Linked DNA regions of Homo sapiens: all the other regions are linked to region 1. Evidence: promoter capture Hi-C in 16 types of primary human blood cells and fetal thymus (Javierre and others, 2016). All regions are on one chromosome and are shown on one strand. The core of a region is centred on a gene start or on the middle of the fragment in contact, and the rest is flanking DNA. Distances in the headings are between cores, read along the strand shown.

What was found. Contacts are between HindIII fragments. The CHiCAGO score rates a contact against its expected background, and 5 or more counts as called.
Region 2: a contact is called between a fragment that was not itself captured here and the fragment with the promoter of TNFSF8 in region 1, in 2 of 17 cell types (M1 macrophages and M0 macrophages). The highest score is 9.2, in M1 macrophages.
Region 3: a contact is called between a fragment that was not itself captured here and the fragment with the promoter of TNFSF8 in region 1, in 14 of 17 cell types (non-activated CD4 T cells, neutrophils, naive CD4 T cells and 11 more). The highest score is 13.7, in non-activated CD4 T cells.

What each region holds. Positions count from the first base shown.
Region 1 is chr9:114,928,093-114,933,011 of GRCh38, reverse strand. It overlaps TNFSF8 (TNF superfamily member 8), which reads left to right and starts at 2,421. Exons shown (of 4, transcript NM_001244.4): 1 at 2,421-2,903. The coding sequence starts at 2,709. RefSeq lists an enhancer at 2,768-3,327. The HindIII fragment of the contact is 2,687 bases long and covers 913-3,599 here.
Region 2 is chr9:115,525,286-115,530,204 of GRCh38, reverse strand. No RefSeq gene overlaps it. Among named protein-coding and RNA genes, the nearest start is that of DELEC1, 390 kb to the right of the region's middle. The HindIII fragment of the contact is 2,493 bases long and covers 1,024-3,516 here.
Region 3 is chr9:114,407,400-114,412,318 of GRCh38, reverse strand. WHRN (whirlin) reads left to right here. Exons shown (of 12, transcript NM_015404.4): 8 at 4,301-4,372. Among named protein-coding and RNA genes, the nearest start is that of AKNA, 22 kb to the right of the region's middle. RefSeq lists a silencer at 2,682-2,731. The HindIII fragment of the contact is 6,945 bases long and covers 1-4,919 here.

The sequences.
Region 1 (4,919 bases), core at 1,172-3,671:
ACATCGTACAGCTTGAGTAGAAGACAGAAAGAAGCCAGTTAGCACAGGTCATGGATTTCTATGTTGGCCAGGCTAGATTCTAGAACAGCTGGAAAGCAGAGAGGGGCTTAGAGCAATGGGGGTGGGAAATAGGGAGCCACTGAAGGTTTGTGAGTAGAGGAGTGTCACAGCAAAAGAATGAATTGAGCCCACAAACTACTGTACTAGGAACTGATCCGAAAATCTCAACTGCTCAGAAAGTTGAGTAAAAACAAAGGGTGATTTTTCCCCCTTGTCAGCCTTCCCTCCCAGGACATTGTATTGTATGCAAAACGGGTAACTGTAAGACAAACATTTTTTTCCACTGCCCTTCTCAGCCCCACAGGCCTTCAGGAAGACCCGAACTTCAAGCAAAGCCTTTTTATTTTTCAACACCCACAGCTTCCATTCAACAATCAGAAGTTTTCCACTTTGATCAAAGAGGCTGAACAAGAGGGCCAAGGGAGCAGCTGGTTCTCAGCAACTCTGGGCAGACCACAGAGCCCTTGCTACCCACTCACTGTCCGTGCCCACCAGAGGACACAGCCTTCTCCCCAAATCAGCCAGGTACATGCCCCAGAAAACACTGGCTTGCCTCGTTCCCACCTTAATTACCGGACCAAACGAACGTGAACACACTGTTTTCAAAACCAAACTCAATTGGGATCACGGGGGCCTCGGTTTCCTTGATTGTAAAATGGGTATATCGCCCCCCACTCTATTTAGCCCAAGAAAACAATTTATCTCTTGATGTCTCTTTCGTCTCCAGGATCTATGCTTTTACAGACTCACTGGGAGGAAATATCCAGACCAAATCCTAAAGCCTGATCTAATTTGGGAGATGCTCAGAAGTTTTGGTTCTATGCAAGAACAGCAGTGGTAATAATCCAAGCTTGGCTTTAGACACAGGACGTTTCCTTAGGGGCATCTGGGATCTCTGCTGGCTCAAAGTGATGCGCTGCAGACAAAAAGTGAGCAGAAAGGAAAGGAGGTGCTATGCAGAATGAGCTTCTTCCACGGTGATACCAAATGGAGCTTTCAAAGGCCCACATCTGGAGGCAGCAGCTATGCAGTGATTAACATTTTAAACGGTATTTTGAAATGGAGATCATTAGTAACCACAGATGTGATCTGACTCTGTCCCCCAGGTAATCTGTCTATTGTATCTAAATTCCAGACTTAGCCCAGTAGACAGCTTGGGATGTTTAACAGGAATTGTCCAACACCATCCCCAAATCTATTTTTATTCATGGAGTACTCTGACATCATCTCGCTTGGTCTTCCTGATGACTGTAATGCAGATTGGGAACAGAGAAAGCCATAAAGACTTGTATGATGGCCCAAGGCTAAGAAGGGAAAGGGCTGAGACCACACTTCAGGTTTTAGCTTTCAGGTGCAGTGAAGATTGAATGACTTAGCACGAGCTTTCAGCCAGGCAGGCTGCAAAGTGCACCCAAGTTCTTTCAGTGATCGACACTTGCGACTTAGGTTGAGATAGTTTTCATCCTCCCTGAGCCTCAGTTTTCCCATCTGTAAAAAATAAACATTGCCTGCCTCGGAGGGTGGAGGTGGAAGTGGAATGAAGCCACATGTAACTCCTAGCGCTGTGCCTGAGACAGTAGAGGTTCAATTATAGTAGTCACATACACACACAACACATACATACACAAGACACAACACACCACACACAACACATACATACACACCACACACAACACTTACATACGCACCACACTCGGCATGCATTGCAGATCACAAATGCACACCACACACACACTGCATACATATACCATAGAGAACACACAACACCTACACATACCCCCATACCACAAATACACACACACTACATAGTACACCACGCAGAACACACACAGCCCCCATATTCCACACCACACCATCTCACTGCCAATTCCTTCCCCTCTTCATGAGTTTTACGGCAGGTCCAGGTTCATCTGCCAGTTTAACAGATCCCAAAACTTCTGCAGGAGTGTTTGTTCAAAAGATTGATATTTCCAGATTCCTGCTTTCTGACAGTATCTTTGAACCCCAAATTTCATACTGCCATGAGCCAGTCCCCCTTTGGAGAAATATCTCCATTTGTGTGCCCTTTTTCCCCCAGGGAACCTGCAGCATGTCCCTTTTTCAGCAGTAGCCTATCAAACCGAACCCTTTGGAGTTATTACACTGCAGTCCGAGGGATCCGGCCTCCCTGAGACCCAGCAAGGACTCATTATCTGGGGAGGTCTTCTGAGCCACAGGCCTCGCTGAAAGAAGGTGCAGCTTCTTGAACAGGAAGGCGTTTTGTGGCAGAGTCTAAACGAAACAGAAGTTGCTTTGTGTGTGCGCACGCATGCACACACACACACACACACACACACATACACACACACAGTCGGGGAACCGTCATTTTCCTACGCGCCCTCTGACATCAGCCACCTTCTCTGTAGCTAGTTTCTCTGCACACAACTTAATCCCTGGCAATGAAAAATGAACCTCTCCCCCACCCTTGCTGCCGCCTCTCGCCTCACGCCCCCAGAGAAGAGTTTCTCCACCAGGCAGCAGGTGAAGGTTTTTTTCCAAGTCACATGATTCAGGATTCAGGGGGAGAATCCTTCTTGGAACAGAGATGGGCCCAGAACTGAATCAGATGAAGAGAGATAAGGTGTGATGTGGGGAAGACTATATAAAGAATGGACCCAGGGCTGCAGCAAGCACTCAACGGAATGGCCCCTCCTGGAGACACAGCCATGCATGTGCCGGCGGGCTCCGTGGCCAGCCACCTGGGGACCACGAGCCGCAGCTATTTCTATTTGACCACAGCCACTCTGGCTCTGTGCCTTGTCTTCACGGTGGCCACTATTATGGTGTTGGTCGTTCAGAGGACGGTAAGTGGACTCCTCTTCCTCCCTTTCCTTTTCTTGTTGTTTTCCCGAGAGAAAGAGCCCTGGGAACAAATGATATTCGTTTGTTGGTTAAGAGCACAAAATAAAATTAAATAAATAAACTCTCTCTCTCTATATATATATATATACTATAGTATATACTGTATAACGTAATACACTTATGTTACATAATATATATTATATTATACAGTATATATTATATATATATATATATATGAGAAAGGGAGAAAAGAAAGAGGAACTTAACTCTCTAAAATAATTTGGCTTGTTGAGAAAAATATTGTTAGACCATCATCTTAAAACTTTGCAGATCTGTCTGAGCAAAACAGTGGAGGGGAGCTATTGGCCTTTTAAAGTTAAGATTTAAATCTTAATGAGCCAGAGACCCATATCAAGGAAGGAAGCAATAGAGAAACCTGATAACACATTTGCACAAGTTGTTATCATGTCTTCAAGGACTTCAGACTGGATTCTGAGGTTCTATATCCTAAGTCTGAGTGTCCTGGAGGTTTCTGAGGCCTCACCCATTGCCAAGAGTTTTGTTTTTGCTTTTGTTTTATACAAGGAGCTAAGTTTCAGAGGCCAAGGTCTAGAAGGAAAGGAGGCGAAAGAGAAGACCATGGCTTCTTAGAGCTTTGGACATTTTGGTGTTAAAGCCAGCAAGACAAATCGAAAGCTTCCTCTTAAGCCACAACTTTGAAGAAGTTAGGGCGTCACAAAAAAAAAAAAAAAAGAAACAGCACATAGAAGCAGAAAGTTGAAAGGTTTTTAGCACCTGTTCTCTCTGATGTTCCTCACAATACTAAGCAATCGTTGGGTACACACTGTACAGGGTCAGACTGTCTTCGGAGATTTACTTTGAAGTAAATGGTAAGATTTGTTTCTGAAAACAGAAGAGGAGGAGAAAGAGGAAGCTTCTTCATATTTTAGAAAATTGGTGTTTACAGAGAATCTACCAGTATATATTATATAGAAAATGCTGTAGTAATAGCATATATTGCTCATGAATTTTTTGATGAAGTTGTTAATGGGTAATTTAAGAGCTGCACCCACCCACATGACCTGCCAAAGTGAGAATATTTCTGTTTCTTACTTCATAGTGCCTACTTTTCGTGGTATTATAATCCTGCTGAATTTATTCTGGTTTTTCTTCAGTTTTCTTAGGCCAAGTACTCTATAGCTTATCAATTGCTGGAAAGAACTAGGCTTTAAAAGGCTTTGATATCTATTTCTCAAGTGTCATCAAGCTTTGAAATTAAATGGAAGCTTTGAAGCTCATATCTCTACAAAAGTGAAAAGAAGGAGTTGCAAATATTTGATTTAGATAGTGGAATTCTTAAAACTCATAATTTAATGGCTTATCTACATCTATTAAGTATAATAATCTTGAAAACACTTTAGGACATCTTTTCTTCTGCAGGGGCTCTGCAATTTCTGTAATTCTAATTTGGAGTGAACCAAGGGTATGTCATTTTATAGCAATGGCCAAAGAAAAGAAATTGAAGTGTCCTTTAAGAAGTTCTTTAGTTAAAGGATCCAACTAGAACTGCTGAGAGAGAGAGAGAGATGGTGGAAAAATGGGTGGCGATGGTGATATATAAAGCTAGAGAGAACTTCAGAGCTCATTCATATCCAACTTTTAGTTGAATTGATTTCTTCTATAAAAGAACCAGAGCAGATCTTTCTGCCTCATTTTTGTAAATGTGGAAAATGAGGAGCAGAGAGGGAACAGGGCTTGAACTACGTCACCCTGAGAAAGTGGTAGAGCCAATACTGCTTGATTGCTTGATGCAAGCAGCATCCCCTTTGCCAATACAGACAGCCACAGAAGCACTAAGAAACATTGCACCCACTCTTCTCTTGGGAGCTTTATCTTCTTGTGCATCCACTTCCTTGACTTACCCCTCATGTTTGGATATGAAAAGATTCACTGTGCAATCTGATTGTACAGTGCGGTGTGCTGTGATTTCTTAGACCAGGAAATATCAGTTGCTTCCT
Region 2 (4,919 bases), core at 1,021-3,520, 600 kb before region 1:
TAGATTTGCTGTAGAAGTTGGGAGCAGCCTTCTAGGACACTGGACTATGTGTTTCTGATAGCTAGCTAAAGAAAAATGAAGAGCAACTGGTTTGACCCACATTGATTGGGATCCAGAGACATTGAACGATGGTGAGGCACTGTAAGCTGGTGTTGAAATTGATGCTGGGAAGAAGAGTACAGTATTCCCCTTACCACCTTATCCATGATTTCAGTTACCCATGGTCATCCGTGGTCTCATAATATCAAATGAAAAATTCCAGAAATTGACAATTCATATGCTTTAAATTTTATGCCATCCTCTGTAATGTGAAGAAATCTGACATAGTCCTGCTCCACCCAGCCTGACACATGAATTGTCCCTTTGTCCAGTGTCTCCATGCCATCTATACTACCCACCTGTTAGTCACTTAGCAGCCATCTTGGTTATCAGATGGACTATTGCAGTATCACAGTGCTTATGTTCAAGTAACCCTTATTTTACTTAATAATAATCCCAAAGGGCAAGAGTAGTGATGCTGGCAATTCAGATATACCAGAGAGAAGCCACACAAAAGTGCTTTCTTTAAGTGAAAAGGTGAAAGTTCTCTACCTAATGAGAAAATAAAAATGGTATGCTGACATTGCTAAGATCTAGGGTGAGAGCAAATCTTCTATCCATGAAATAGGGGACGGTATTTTTTATAATTGTTTTACTTCAGTATTAGTTATTGTAAAAATTTTACCGTGCTTAATTTATAATTTAAACTCTATCATGGGTATGTATGCATATGAAAAAAATACAGTGTATATAGGGTTCAGTACTATCTGTGTTTTCAGGCATCTACTGGGAATCTTGAAACTTATCCCAAGTTACACAGCTATACAGGGGGCCTACTGTATCAACTGGAGCTTGAAGGTGATGCAACAGGAAGATGGAGAGATGACTGAACAGTTAGGATGTTTCTGATGTCATAGAGGTATTAGATGAGAATGATCTCCAATGCCTAAGAAACTGGGGGAGAAGGGGTAATTGGCAAAAGCTTTTATTCTCTCAGAATCTACCTTGTTGCACAGACTCCATAAGAGGCCACAAAACGTAGCATGGGTCAGGGCATACTTCTGTGGAAAGAATGCAGCCACGATGGAATCTCATAGGCCAAGTTTGAATTCTGGCTTCACCACCTGCCAACTCTACCAATTAACACCATCCTTCAGGATTTTAGTCTTCTCAACTCTCAACTGGCATAACAGTGGCTACTTGAGTAGATCACTGACAAGATGATAAATTATTACATAATTTATATATAAAAATGATTACATGATTTATATATAAATGATTACATAATTTATATATAAAAATTATTACTTGTAAATTTGTCTGAGTTCATTGTAGATTCTGGATATTAGCCCTTTGTCAGATGAGTAGGTTGCGAAAATTTTCTCCCATTTTGTAGGTTGCCTGTTCACTCTGATGGTAGTTTCTTTTGCTGTGCAGAAGCTCTTTAGTTTAATTAGATCCCATTTGTCAATTTTGTCTTTTTGCCATTGCTTTTGGTGTTTTGGACATGAAGTCCTTGCCCATGCCTATGTCCTGAATGGTAATGCCTAGGTTTTCTTCTAGGGTTTTTATGGTTTAAGGTCTAACGTTTAAGTCTTTAATCCATCTTGAATTGATTTTTGTATAAGGTGTAAGGAAGGGATCCAGTTTCAGCTTTCTCCATATGGCTAGCCAGTTTTCCCAGCACCATTTATTAAATAGGGAATCCTTTCCCCATTGCTTGTTTTTCTCAGGTTTGTCAAAGATCAGATAGTTGTAGATATGCGGCGTTATTTCTGAAGGCTCTGTTCTGTTCCATTGTTCTATATCTCTGTTTTGGTACCAGTACCATGCTGTTTTGGTTACTGTAGCCTTGTGGTATAGTTTGAAGTCAGGTAGTGTGATGCCTCCAGCTTTGTTCTTTTGGCTTAGGATTGACTTGGTGATGCGGGCTCTTTTTTGGTTCCATCAAAAAGTGGGCGAAGGACATGAACACACACTTCTCAAAAGAAGACATTTATGCAGCCAAAAAACACATGAAAAAATGTTCATCATCACTGGCCATCAGAGAAATGCAAATCAAAACCACAATGAGATACCATCTCACACCAGTTAGAATGGCAATCATTAAAAAGTCAGGAAACAACAGGTGCTGGAGAGGATGTGGAGAAATAGGAACACTTTTACACTGTTGGTGGGACTGTAAACTAGTTCAACCATTGTGGAAGTCAGTGTGGCGATTCCTCAGGGATCTAGAACTAGAAATACCATTTGACCCAGCCATCCCATTACTGGGTCTATACCCAAAGGACTATAAATCATGCTGCTATAAAGACACATGCACACGTATGTTTATTGTGGCATTATTCACAATAGCAAAGACTTGGAACCAACCCAAATGTCCAACAATGATAGACTGGATTAAGAAAATGTGGCACATATACACCATGGAATACTATGCAGCCATAAAAAATGATGAGTTCATGTCCTTTGTAGGGACATGGATGAAATTGGAAATCATCATTCTCAGTAAACTATCGCAAGAACAAAAAACCAAACACCGCATATTCTCACTCATAGGTGGGAATTGAACAATGAGATCCATGGACACAGGAAGGGGAATATCACACTCTGGGGACTGTTGTGGGGTGGGGGGAGGGGGGAGGATAGCATTGGGAGATATACCTAATGCTAGATGACGAGTTAGTGGGTGCAGCGCACCAACATGGCACATGTATACATATGTAACTAACCTGCACAATGTGTACATGTACCCTAAAACTTAAAGTATAATAAAAATTATTACATGATTTATAAATAAAAATTATTACATAATTTATAAATATATATAAATCTCAGCTATTGCTGTATTTCATTTACTATTTTAACAACAATCCTAGGTGCCAACTATATGCCAACTATTTTGCTAGATGCTACAGGAATACTGAACATGGTCTGTGTCTTTAAGTAGTGTGGAAAATAGCTGTATTCTCTATAAAAGAAAGACAGTAGTATTTTAAAATTAAATTCTGATCAAGTCACTCTTCTGTTTAAACTATTTTGAAGATTCCTATTATTCTTAGGATAAAAACCTGAAATCCTTAGTAGGACAATTATGGATAATGTTGCCCTTGCTTAAAAAACTCAGTCTAATCTCAAGCTACCTTTCGCTCTCTCAATTCCAGCTGCCTGTTTATTTCATATAGAGTGTATTTATGGCTATTTGATTAACGTCTATGTCTCATGACATCTTTGCTCTGTTGGGTCAGAAAGTTTTATCTGTTTTGCTACTCACTACATTCCTAAAGCCTGAGCAAAATTTCTGACAGCCAGGAGGTTGTCAAGAAATAGGCTTTTAATAAAAGGAACAATAAATGACAAGTAAAAGCTACAATGGTAGATAAAGTTATCCCATGCAACAGGAGCACAAAGAGAGAAACAGCAAACTCTGCCTCAGGTAGAGGAAGTAGCCTTTGAATATAGTAGAACAAACAAGCTTAGCTTTAAAGCACACCACAGAAGAGTTATCCAAGCAGAGAAGCTTTTTGTTTGTGCAAAAATCCCAGGAGGTACTAATTGTGCAGACCTCATTCTTCACCTATAAAATGAACTACCTGATACCTATTTAAGAGAGGGAAGTTATGAGTATTGGCTGAGATGCATGATGTAAATATGTCTGCCAAATATATATAAGGTGTTGTGATCAGAATCTACCTGTCTCATAAGCCTGGTTTATATTATGGCATTCTTGAAAATAAAAAATAATTAAATAATAATAGTAATAATAATAGTGACAATAATAATAAAAACAAAAAGTAGTGGGAAAGAAGAAGAGGAGAAGGAGGAAGAAGAGGAAGAGAAGGAGAAGGAGGAGGAAGAGAAAGAGGAGGAGGAGGAGAAGGAGGAGAAGGAAAAGAATAATTTTCTTTGTTTATTTTCTACTATGTACCTAGAACTTGATGTACAGTATTTTAATCCTATAAAAACTTTCATAGTAGCTAGTATTTTCTTCATTTCAATGATAGAGAAACTGACTTCCAGAGGTTTTAAATGTCCTTTCCAAAATCATAGAATAATAAGCAATTTATATAAACAGTGAAATTCTAATATCCTGGCCATCAACAATTATTTATTATGTACCTACAGTGGATCAGTCCATCTTTCTATGCTCTAGAAATGCAACTGTATATAAAAAGATAGATATTCTGCCTTCATGAAGCATAGAGTCCACTGGCATAAGCATATTGCAGAGATCCTGATGCTGATTGGTACCACACCATGAGAGGGGCATCTCTTTCCCATACTAAGGGGCATTACTATAGGCAGACAGTGACTCATTTAAGTCTCTATGAATGTCTTGCCACCTCACCTTGATACTAAATATTCTCATATCATGAAGTCAGAGTCATAGGAAAAGGGCAGAATCAGAGGCTAAAATGGCCAATTGGTGAGGTTGTAGCAGAATGACATCTCAGATTCTATTGTCCAGAGCCAGAAAGCAGAAGGGAGCTGGAGTTGGCCCAGACACTTGAGTTCTTGTTCACATCAGTCTGGAATATGTTGATACTCAATAAATATTTGTAAGCTGTCACTGTAAAATTTAGGAGCAGTCATGTGCTGCCAGCACACGAGAGCCCGTTACTTTCCAACTCCACATTCAATAAAATAGATCATGATGAGAGTATTTTTTAAACAGAGAAATCAGCAAATACCATAGATTGGTCCCTGCCCACCACCACCCTGACTTGGTTGGTAAACATTTACCAGCATACCACTGGAGAAAGAGCATCTCTCTCTGAGTCATTGTTTCTCCGTCTTTTCAAGGGGTAGACGATGAAGTGATTTTAAAGCCCCCAGAAAGCTGGATGATATGTTAGAAACAGCAAAGGTCTGGGGCAAGG
Region 3 (4,919 bases), core at 742-3,241, 520 kb after region 1:
CATGAGCTCTGACCTTGAGCCTCCTCTGGAAGCCTGTTCCGCAGGCATTTCTGCTGATGCATCCCCCGGGTTCTTAGCCGGCTGTCTGCAGCTATTTCAGATGCATAAGGAACATGGCTCGGGGACTTGGGACTCCTGAGCGTCTGGATTCAGCAGATGGAGTCTGGCAGGGCTGGGCTCAGAGGGCTGGGCTCCGACCCGTCTGCCATTTGCTCCACTTCAGGCCTCCCTGACAGGGCTGGATATTCATCCCTCGTCTACCCCTCACCCTCCCAACCCTCCACCTCCACCTGCCATGTCCCCAGGATGCAGTTAGTAGCAGGGAATGAGGCTGAGGACAGGGCCAGCTATGGCTGCCTTCTCTCTCATTTCCAAGAGGGTTGCTCATGGGGGCCTCAGGTTCCTATGACATCAAGGCCCTGTTCATTTCTGGGGTTGGGACAGTGTAGTATGGGCGTTGGGGTGACCCAGACCTGGGTTAGAAACCTTACCTTCTGTAGAACGGTCAGATGACCTTGGACAAGTCTCTTCCCTCTCTGAACTTCAGGTGTAATCGATGTGACAAGGGACAGTCCTAGTGCCTGCCTCACAGGGTCATTGGGAGGATCAAATGAGATAATATAAGTAAAACACCCAGCACGGGGCCTGGCGCACAGTAGGTCCTTTGTAGTTCTCTAATACCCTTTCTGGGAAAAAGTCACACCCTCCCTGAGCTTCCCTGGAAAGTCATGGCTGCCTGATAAGAGCTTCCTGCACAGCTGAATGTGCAAAGCCCCTGATGCGCCAGAGCAGGGCAGGATCCCACGGCATTGGTCCTACCATGTACTGTCATCTGAGTCCAACCCCAGCTTCCCCCAGGATCAGCTGCAGGTTGAATTCCTGGGGCAGGGGGCAGTGGCTCCACCTGAATGTGGCAGAGGCTCCCCTTGTCTTTGCTGTAGATACCTCTGAGGCTCTGACCCCTCTCTGTGCCTCCTGCTGACACCAGGACTATGAATGTTGAGCCTGAGGAAGTGAATGCATGTCAATCACTGCCTCACTGTTCACCTTAACGCGCCTGGCTGGACTACTTCCAGGGAGCATTGGACTCATTATGGTCTTGGAGGAGGGAGGTGGTGTGAGAGGGCTGCCATTCCTTTCCATCCTAGTTGTCATATGGGCCAGGACACGTCTCGCGGTTCATTCTCTTGCTGGGGCAGATTGCAAGGCCTCCCAGTCTCCCAATGCACGTAACAGTCACCTTCCTCGTACATTGTGCCAGGCCCTATTCTGAGTGCTTTGTAAGTGTTAACATGTCCACTGCCTAAGGCAGGTATTGCTGTTAACCTATTTTACAGAGGAAGGATTTACCTACCATCACTCAGCTGCAAGCGGCAGAACTGGGTGTGAGCTCAAAGAAGCCTCAGAGTTGGCAGAGCCAGAACCAGTGTCACTAATCAGTGAGTGAGAGAGCAGCCCAATCACCCTCGCCCTTTTGAAAGAATCCCCCCAACCACCACATACCGCGCTTGCATCACAGGGGCTGTCAGCAGCAGATTCCTGTGAGGCAGTGTGCAGTTAACAGGTCAGGACCAAGGTTTGCATGTAAACCTCAACTTTGTGGGGAAATGGGGGCAGTTGCCCCTGCCTGACTATGCCCCTGAAGCATCATGGGACCAGATGAGGAGCTCTGGGTTTGCAGGGCTCTGACCCGGAAGGCCCGAGCCAGCATCTTGTGGGTCGAGATGGGGATATGTGTGGCATGACTGGCCTCTCTCTGTCTTAGGGGTATGGCGTCAGGAGTGCCTTCTGTCCCCACCTGCTGCCTTCACACTCAGACATTCATTACTGCTCACTGCAGTGACCTGCAGCACCACCCCCCTCAACTCCCTGCCTGCTCTGGCCTCCTCCAATGATGGCTAGAGTGATTGATTCATTCATTCATCCATCCTGCCATTCATTCATGGATTCATCAGTTTGCTTCATAAACATTTATCCAGCAGCCACTGTTCTGAAAAGTGAGGAGAGAGTGAGGACCGAGTAGTTGCATGTCCTGCCTTCTCAGAGTTTATATCCTATTGAGAGAGACAGACAGTATGCAAAGAGTATAAAGTCAGATGGTGATAGGTGTTACACAGAAAACCAAAGCAGGAACGGGATAGACAGGGATGGGGGTGGGGCAGTACTGTTTTAGACAGGGCTTCTCTGGGAGGGCCTCGCTGAGGTCTGAACTAAACAAAGTGAAGGAATGAACCACAGTGTGGTGCAGAGTGAGAGCGGCAGGTGCAAAGGCCCTGGGGCAGTAATGAGCTCGTGATGTTGGAGTAGCAGGAAAGGGCCCGGTCATGTAGGCACAATGAGTAGGGTTTGGAACTTCCTCCAACTGAGATGAAGAGGCCCTTGGGGGTCCTGAGCTGCAGAGAGACCTGACATGTGTTTCTGGCATGACTCCCTAGCTGCTGGGTGGAGATGGTGATCAATGAGAAGGAGAAAAATAAAGCAAGGTGGAGTGGGGTGAGGGGAAGGTTACGATTTTAGCTGAGGTGGTGAGGGTACACCTTGTCGAGCAGGTGACAGGTGGGTTAGGTTTTGGAGGTGAGCGACAGCATGCCTTGTGGATGGATAGCCAAGCAGAAGAGTCGCAGACAGAGACAACAGCCAGTGTGAAGGCTGACACATCCGTGGTGTTCCAGCCTGGCTGGAGAGGATGTGAGCAAAGGGGATCTTCGTAGAAGGCAAACTTGACCACATCTCCATGGCAACCCACTGCCCTCAGGCTTAAGTGCAAGAGCTCCATGCTTGACTTCTGTGGAGCTGCTCGGGGGTTCTCAAACATCCTATCTCCATTCCTGCTTTACACCCTTTCCTCTGTCTGAAACACCTATCGTTCCCTTCTTTGCTCTGCTCACTCATAAGACCTAGCTTTGAGTTGTGCCCCGTCCTCCAGGAAGCCTTCCGTGGTAACCCCTCCCCCGATTGCATTATATGCCTGTGTTTGCCCATTGGATGCTCTCTCTGCAGTCTCCCTGTTGCTTGTTTGCTTGTCGACTGACCCCATTGTCTCTGAGCTACCAATGGCAGGGTTGGTGTCCCACCTCTGTGTCCCCAGCCCCTTATCAGCCTGGAGCTTCAGAGACTGCTCAGTACTGATGAGCACTGCAGTTGAGACCTCAGCCAAGTGTTGATGTAGCCAGCAGGGTTCTCCAGAGAAAGAGAAGCAATCAGTTATACTATATTGTGTGGGATTGGCCCACGCAATGATGGAGGTTGAGAAGTCCCCTGATCTGCCATCTGCAAGTCGGAGGCCCAGGGAAGCTGGTGGTTTTGTTTTAGTCCAAGTCCAAAGGCCCAATAACCATGAGCTCCGGTGTCTGAGGGAGGAGGAGATGGATGTCTCAGCTCTAGAAGAGCGCGCAAATTTGCCCTTCCTCTGCCTTTCTGTTCTGTTCAGGCCCTTAGTGGATTGGATGAGGCCCACCCACATTGGGGAGGGTGAGTTTTGCCCAGTCCACCCATTCATATGCTGATCTCTCCTGGAAACACCCTCACAGACACACCCAGAAATAATGTTTTACCAGCTATCTCAGCATCCCTTAGCCCAGTCAAGTTGACACGCGAAGCTAATCATCACAGTGGTGGAAGCTCTTTTCCATTCTGGGCTCTAGGGCCGAGAGAACTGGCTCCCTTAGCCCTCAAGAGAGCCCAGCTCAGAGAGGAGCTCCGATGGGCCCCCCATAGACGGCCCACAAATGGCCTTTTGGCAGCCCAGTGTCACTTAAGGAGGCATTGGGTTTCTTCTTGTGAATTGGGAAGGGAAGAAAGAAATAGACGTTTTTTGCAAAATAAGGTCCATTTAAACCTTAAACCACCACCTTGGGATTAAAACCATTAGAATTTTAAAAAGGGAGAGACTTTCCCCATCCACTTCTCTCTTGCCATTTTCACACCTTCCTGGGATTCATCAGCAAGTGGTGGAGAGAGGCCTTGGCTTTTGGAGGCATGACTGTGGAGCACAGCGCTCGTGGCCAAACCCAGGAATTCCCAGCCCAGGCTAGAGATGCCCCAGCATCTCTGGCAGTTCAGGGGATGCCTGAAAATGATCAGAAAGTCCCAAAGAAAACTTAACTTCAAAGTGACCAGCAGGCAAATTGACCTTCATTTTAATGGGTAAAGTGAATTTCGATGAAGTGAGGTATGTCAGGGCTCACATGAACCACATGGAGGTGTCCTAAGACTTCCTCAATTTTGGTGTGCTGGAGAACAAACCAGTGTTCCCTTCTCAGCTTCTGTTTGCTCACTTTGCTTTCTCGTCCATTTCTAGAACACTCTGGACCTGGAGGAAACTGGCGAGGCTGTCCAGGGCAATATCAACGCCCTCCCAGATGTGTCCGTGGTAAGGCCCTGGCTGGCCCTTTGGTTCTGCTCTCCCTGGTGTGCTCAGGTCCTGGTGGCTCTCTCCTCTCCATGACAGCCACGGAGAAAGGGCACAGGGTGGCAAAGGAGACAGAGGCCTCTGCCATGAGCTCTCACACCCAGCTACAGGTCTGTGCACAAGCTCACCATTCTAGTATCTCTAGCAGGCACCAGGATCACTTGCCTCTGGTGACTTCAGGCGGGGCCTTCAGGCTGGCTGGCCACAGTATGACCAAGTTTCTTAGCCTCTCTGTGCCTCAGTTTCCCCGTCGGTAAAGTGGGGATGATGATCATAGCATACCTACCCCATAAGTTCGTGGCATGGAGTAAATTAATTAAGTAAAGCCTTTAGGATGGTGACTGGAAGGTTGTTGGAGCTGTGCAGGTGTCCGGTGTTGACCTAGGCAGAGGGGAGTGGTAGTCACAGTGTCCATAGCTGCCCCTCACTGTGCACCTGCTGTGGCGCAGGCACTGTGCTAACAGTATTCACGTGGCTTTTGACATCACCACACCACCTCTGCTGGGTA